Regions from separate parts of the Homo sapiens genome. Here region 1 is linked to region 2. The links are contacts of gene promoters, found by promoter capture Hi-C in blood cells and fetal thymus (Javierre and others, 2016). All regions are on one chromosome and are shown on one strand. Each heading gives the region's core, a stretch centred on a gene start or on the middle of the fragment in contact. The rest is flanking DNA. Distances are from core to core; before and after follow the strand shown.

Evidence for each region. Contacts are between HindIII fragments. The CHiCAGO score rates a contact against its expected background, and 5 or more counts as called.
Region 1: a fragment that was not itself captured here is called in contact with the fragment with the promoter of LZIC in region 2 in 2 of 17 cell types (activated CD4 T cells and naive CD8 T cells); the score reaches 6.2 in activated CD4 T cells.

The regions. Positions count from the first base shown.
Region 1 is chr1:10,414,663-10,417,362 of GRCh38, reverse strand. It overlaps PGD (phosphogluconate dehydrogenase), which reads right to left. Exons shown (of 13, transcript NM_002631.4): 9 at 246-376. Among named protein-coding and RNA genes, the nearest start is that of CENPS, 14 kb to the left of the region's middle. The HindIII fragment of the contact is 991 bases long and covers 789-1,779 here.
Region 2 is chr1:9,942,047-9,944,947 of GRCh38, reverse strand. It overlaps LZIC (leucine zipper and CTNNBIP1 domain containing), which reads left to right and starts at 1,557. Exons shown (of 8, transcript NM_032368.5): 1 at 1,557-1,699; 2 at 2,166-2,324. NMNAT1 (nicotinamide nucleotide adenylyltransferase 1) reads right to left here and starts at 1,473. Exons shown (of 5, transcript NM_022787.4): 1 at 1,433-1,473. RefSeq lists enhancers at 1,388-1,957, 1,225-2,424, 1,958-2,528. The HindIII fragment of the contact is 30,819 bases long and covers 1-2,901 here.

The sequences.
Region 1 (2,700 bases), core at 35-2,534, 470 kb before region 2:
CAGAGACCTACTAGGATTGCCATTAGGAGAGTGACCGCCTTATGTCTACCAGTCTTATTCTCATCAGCAGTGGAGATCCCAGAAGGGCCAATATTCTAGGAAAACATTGTAAGTCAAGATCCAAGTCAAGGCTGAACTTCATTCCACCTGCCATCCTGTGGCCTCGAGTGTTCTCCCACCACAACCCCCACCCCCACTGCCTTCCGCAGGACCAACAAAGACCACTGCCAGGGACTGTGTCCCACCTTCCGAATGTCCTCCAGGAATGATTTCTTATCACCATCAAACTGGAACTTCTGGGGACCCTTCAGCTTTTTGCTAGCTTGAATTCTCTCATCCTTCAGAGATGATAAGCACCGAGCAAAGACAGCTTCTCCTACATGGGGAGATCGGGAAGAGGAAACAGATTACTGTCAGGCCTCTGAGCCCAAGCTAAACTATCATATCCCCTGTGACCTGCATGTATACATCCAGATGGCCTGAAGCAAGTGAAGAATCACAAAAGAAGTGAAAATGGCTGGTTCCTGCCTTTACTGATGACATTCCACCATTGTGATTTGTTCCTGCCCCACCTTAACTGAGCGATTAACCTTGTGACATTCCTTCTCCTGGCTCAGAACCTCCCCAACTGAGCACCTTGTGACCCCTCGGCCCTGCCCGTAAGAGAAAAACCCCCTTTGACTGTAATTTTCCACTACCTGCCCAAATCCTATAAAATGGCCCCACCCCTATCTCCCTTCGCTGACTCTTCGGACTCAACCTGCCTGCACCCAGGTGATTAAAAAGCTTTATTGCTCACACAAAGCCTGTTTGGTGGTCTTTTCACACGGATGCGCATGAAAATTACCAAAGTTCGCACAGCAACCAGAAGAAAGGTGGAGCAGGAAAGTCTGTTTATACAAAGAGCTGAAAGTTTCAACCTTAGGCCACAAAAGTTGACATGGATCGGAAGGAACTTTTATAAGAAGCTCTAAACAGTTAATTTGATAACTAAAACTCTTAAGACAATCTTCCAATACAAACATGAGTATTCAATCACAAAGATTAACATGAAATTCAAAAGGGAGTTTTGAGGGAAAATGAAGAGATAGAAACCACTGTTATGGCTGGGCAAGGTGGCTAACACCTGTAATCCCAGCACTTTGGCAGGCTGAGGTGGGAGGATCACTTGAGCCCAGGAGTTCAAGGCTACAGTGAGCCATGATCACACCACTGCTCTCCAGCCTGGGCAACACAGTGAGACCCTGTCTCTAAAACCAGTAAAATAAAATAAAAACCACTGTTATGTAGAATACTCAGTGTTGGTCCATGAGTAAAATTTCAAATTCAATTTAGAGGACCTTAATTTTTTTTTTTGAAGATTTTACATTGATAAGTCACATTTACGGACTCACCTCTCAAAAAAATGTTAGGTTTTTATATTTTACGGTTTTCAGTATAGCCGTAATCATTCAAGTTTAACCACTTTACTTCATTTGAATTAAAAAGTCAATGTAGTATTTTAATATTAAGACATTTAGTATTTTCAGAAAGTATTCCTTATAAAAGACTTGCTCAACTGACAACTTATAGTTAGAATAAATGACTCTTTAACCACTTTTTCCCCCATAGACAAAATGAAGTAAAATCTCAGGGAACTAACAGAGGACTTTATTTCTGAGGAAAGAGGAGCAGCTATGGCTTGAGACTGCTAACCCTACTCCAAACACACAAAAGCAGCTACCTCTCTCCTGGCCCAAATGCACACACAGGATGACTTAGCATTTCTAGAAGGAAGCTTTGTAAGATGACTGGTGCAACAGGCTATGAGGCAAACCCTTCCTGTTAGAGGGGGAGAGGGCAGCTGGAAGACTTCCCTGTTAGTTCACAAATAATGATGGCTCCCAGCAGGGGGTGGGCCCAGCCACCCTGGGGGAAGAGGTATATGGATCCACAGGAGGAGAGTAGGATTCTGAGATCCTAATACTTACACATATACTTGAGTCCGTGATGAATAAATTGCTCCTAGCTATTGGCCCCTCCCTCCTCACCTATGTTATGGCTCAGATCGGCTAAAAGCAGCCAACTTCCTTCTATACAGCACGGAACTGTAGAAACCACCGACTTTCCTCCTTACTCTGCCTTACACCACACAGTTCAATAGGGCGAGGCACAATGAACAGGGAGGTCAAAAGGGGAGAAGAGTCAAGGGAGAGAAAGGCAACCTGTATCCAGAGGAGCAAACAGGAAAAATTCTGTTTTATTATTTTTGAGATGCTTCTTTTTTTTTTTTTAGGCGGAGTCTTGCTCGGTCGCCCAGCCTGGAGTGCAGTGGTGCGATCTCAGCCCACTGCAAATTCCGCCTCCCAGGTTCAAGTGATTCTCCTGCCTCAGCCTCCTGAGTAGCTGGGATTACAGGCACGGGTCACTATGCCTGGCTAACTTTCGTATTTTTAGTAGAGATGGGGTTTCGCCATGTTGGTCAGGCTGGACTCAAACTCCTGACCTCGTGATCCGCCCACCTCGGTCACCCAAAGTGCTGGGATTACAGGCGTGAGCCACCGCGCCTGGCCCAATTCTGTTTTAATATAGTGAGAACAATCTGCCAGAAGCAAAGATCAGCCTCTCATTAACCACGAGAGGCATCCTTCGTTCTCCTTTTTCATTCCTGCCAGAAGTCTATGTATTTTACTCTTAGAACCACCTTTGCTGGGCATGGTG
Region 2 (2,901 bases), core at 308-2,807:
TTTGCAAAGGAAATTCTTTGAATCTGAAGTGTCTTGCAAGGTAGAGGCTATTGCAACCATTTCAACTAGTGTGTCAACAGTCTTCTCTAAGGTGGGCTAGAAAAATGGTTTCATATTCAAATTGTAACTCTGAAAAACAACTGATGGTAATAAAGAGATTCCATAATCAGACAGAACTAAGTGAAACAATTAGTTTTGGTAGAGTTCTGTGGTAATCATAGTTAGAAGTTTATCCTGGGTAGCTGAAATATAACTAACTTCAGACTCCAGGCCTGTCGGTGGCTTGTGCCAATCACCACAACACTTTGAGGGGCCAAGGCCAGAGGATCGCTTGAGCCCAGGAGTTCAAGGCTGCAGTGAGCTATGATCACACCACTGCACTCCAGCCTGGGCAACACAGCTCTTGTTTTTTAACAAGACATTGTTACTTAAAAAAAAACTGCCCTGATGAAACAATTCTACCATGAACACTGATGTTGTTCTGTGGACTACTTCAGGAAGATGGACTAAGAACATCATTAAATAGTTCCAACCAGTTTCTGGGTAATTTTATTTTTAATTTTTTGTTATGAGGGTCTTGCTATGTTGCCCAGCCTGGGCTCAAATGATCCTCCCACCGCGGGCTCTCAAAGTGCTGGGTTTACAGGTGTCACACCGCGACAGCCAAGGGTAACTTTTTTTTATTTTTATTTTTGAGATGGAGTCTCGAACTGTCGCCCCGGCTGGAGTGCAATGGCGCGATCTCGGCTCACTGTAACCTCCGCCTCCAGGATTCAAGCGATTCTCCTGCCTCAGCCTCCCGAGTAGCTGAGATTACAGGCGCCCACCACCACGCCCAGCTAATTTTTTGTATTTTTAGTAGAGACGGGGTTTCACTATGTTGGCCAGGCTGGTCTCGAACTCCTGACCTCGTGATCCGCCTGCCTCGGCCTCCCAAAGTGCTGGGATTACAGGCGTGAGCCACCGCGCCCGTCCAAGGGTAACTTTTTAAGAGCTGCCCTACAGCTCATTACCTCCTTCTCAAGGAGCATGAGTGTCAAACCACCTCCAGCAAAGTAGATGTAGTCTTTTACAGATTTGGAAAGAAGGATTTAGGAGGAAAGGGAAGTCGTTCGGAATGAAGGATTTCCTCCTCTGACGCCCAGCCGTCCCCCGTTAAGCCTAAAGGTGCCAGACCTCAAGACTCTTCTAGAAAGAGATTTTTCCTTTCCAAGGTGAATCCATCTGTTCCGAAGGTCAGAAGCTATTTTACCGAAGTTTTCCGTTCCACTGAAAAAATTAAGGGTCAATCAAAGCTCCTTGCCCCAAACCTGAATATGAGCTTGCCTCGGGTCATATTCGACTCTAAAGACTCCACCACACCATCCTGGACTCCCCTATATCTAGGACAAAAAGCGACCAGTTTCTCAGGGGCTCCTTGCGGGGAGCTTACCGCGCCCTCACTGTCCGCCGGCCCGAGTGCTACCGGAGATCACCAGCGGCCCGGACGCCAGCGAGTGGAACATCTCGGTCGCACTCTCATTGGTTCCAGGGGGCCGGAAGTGCGTGCGTCCAGCGGAAGTGCTCCCCCGGCGCGGTCCGCCAGGCCAGTGCCCTCAGGTAGGCGGGGCCCCTGGCCCTAAACTCTGGGACTGGCGGGCGGTCAGGCGGCACAGGGGGAATCCCGGGGGCCTAAGGAGGTTGTCCCAGTTTTTGTCAGGTAGGCCCGGAAGGAGTTTCGGGGACCATGGGTTTACGGCTACCTCTGGTGGCAATTGGGGCCTGTTGGAGCCCGGCCGCCGCGGGACCTACGTGCCGGACTTCAAGTTCCCGCGTGGGGTGGGATTTGCTGCGGTGGCCGGAGCTGATTCTTCACCCAGTCCTGTTGGTTCTGGGCCAAACCCTCCTCACTTTCAAGGAAGAGGCGTGCTCTCCGCCCTTACCTTTTCCAAGCCTCTGGGTTTGACGCCATCCCTCAAGGCGTGTCCGGATGCGGGATTTTCCTCAAAGACCCTCTCGGCCTCGCTAGGAAGAAACTCAGAAAGGCTGCGGTAGGCGCAGTCGAGGGGGAAAGTGCCCCCGCCCTTGATGTCTCAGGCTGCTCAAGTGGAAGTTATCTGGACTGCCTTAGGGCAAGTTTATATATAGCAAATAAAATTACTTGTTAATGGTTTCCTTTTTTCCAGCATCTCCACCCCGAGGTGGTTTGAACTTTGAGCCTTTTGTAGTCCTGATGAATAATTTCATTTTCCTCAAGTTTATGACACTCGGAACGTCAAGAACTGGAGGTTTGTGCAATTTGAGACCGGTCGGCACTGTGCAGAGATCAGAGTACTAAGAGACAGGTGAGCATGAATGAGGACCCTCCGCTCCAGATATAGTGTCTGAGAGCGGTTTCTGTAGTTTCGTAAAAGTGAAAAGTGCACCACATTTAGTGACTACTAGGTGGTGCCAACGAGTTAATCTTTCGGGGATAAATCTCAACTAATGTAGTACCAGGTTAAGGCTTTTAAAATGCACCCATTTTTACTGAAATGTATTCAGAATAGCTTTAGCTCCTTAAAATATGTTGAGCCTTTATATACGTGACCAAATTATCGACGTTCTATTCTGTATTAGGTACTGAGAAAGCTGAGAGAGGAATCAGACTCATATTCTGTTCTCCAGAGTTTAGTCAGAGGAGATAACGTATTATAATAAAATCATATATAATTAAAGGCAGAAATAAGTGCTAAATAGAGAATAAGATTTGAGCTGGGCGCGGTGACTCACGCCTGTAATCCCATCACTTTGGGAGACTGAGGCAAGTGGATCACCAGAGGTCAGGAGTTCAAGACTCGCCTGGACAACATGGTGAAACCCCATCTCTACTAAAAATACAAAAATTAGCCAGATGTGGTGACGCATGCCTGTAGTCCCAGC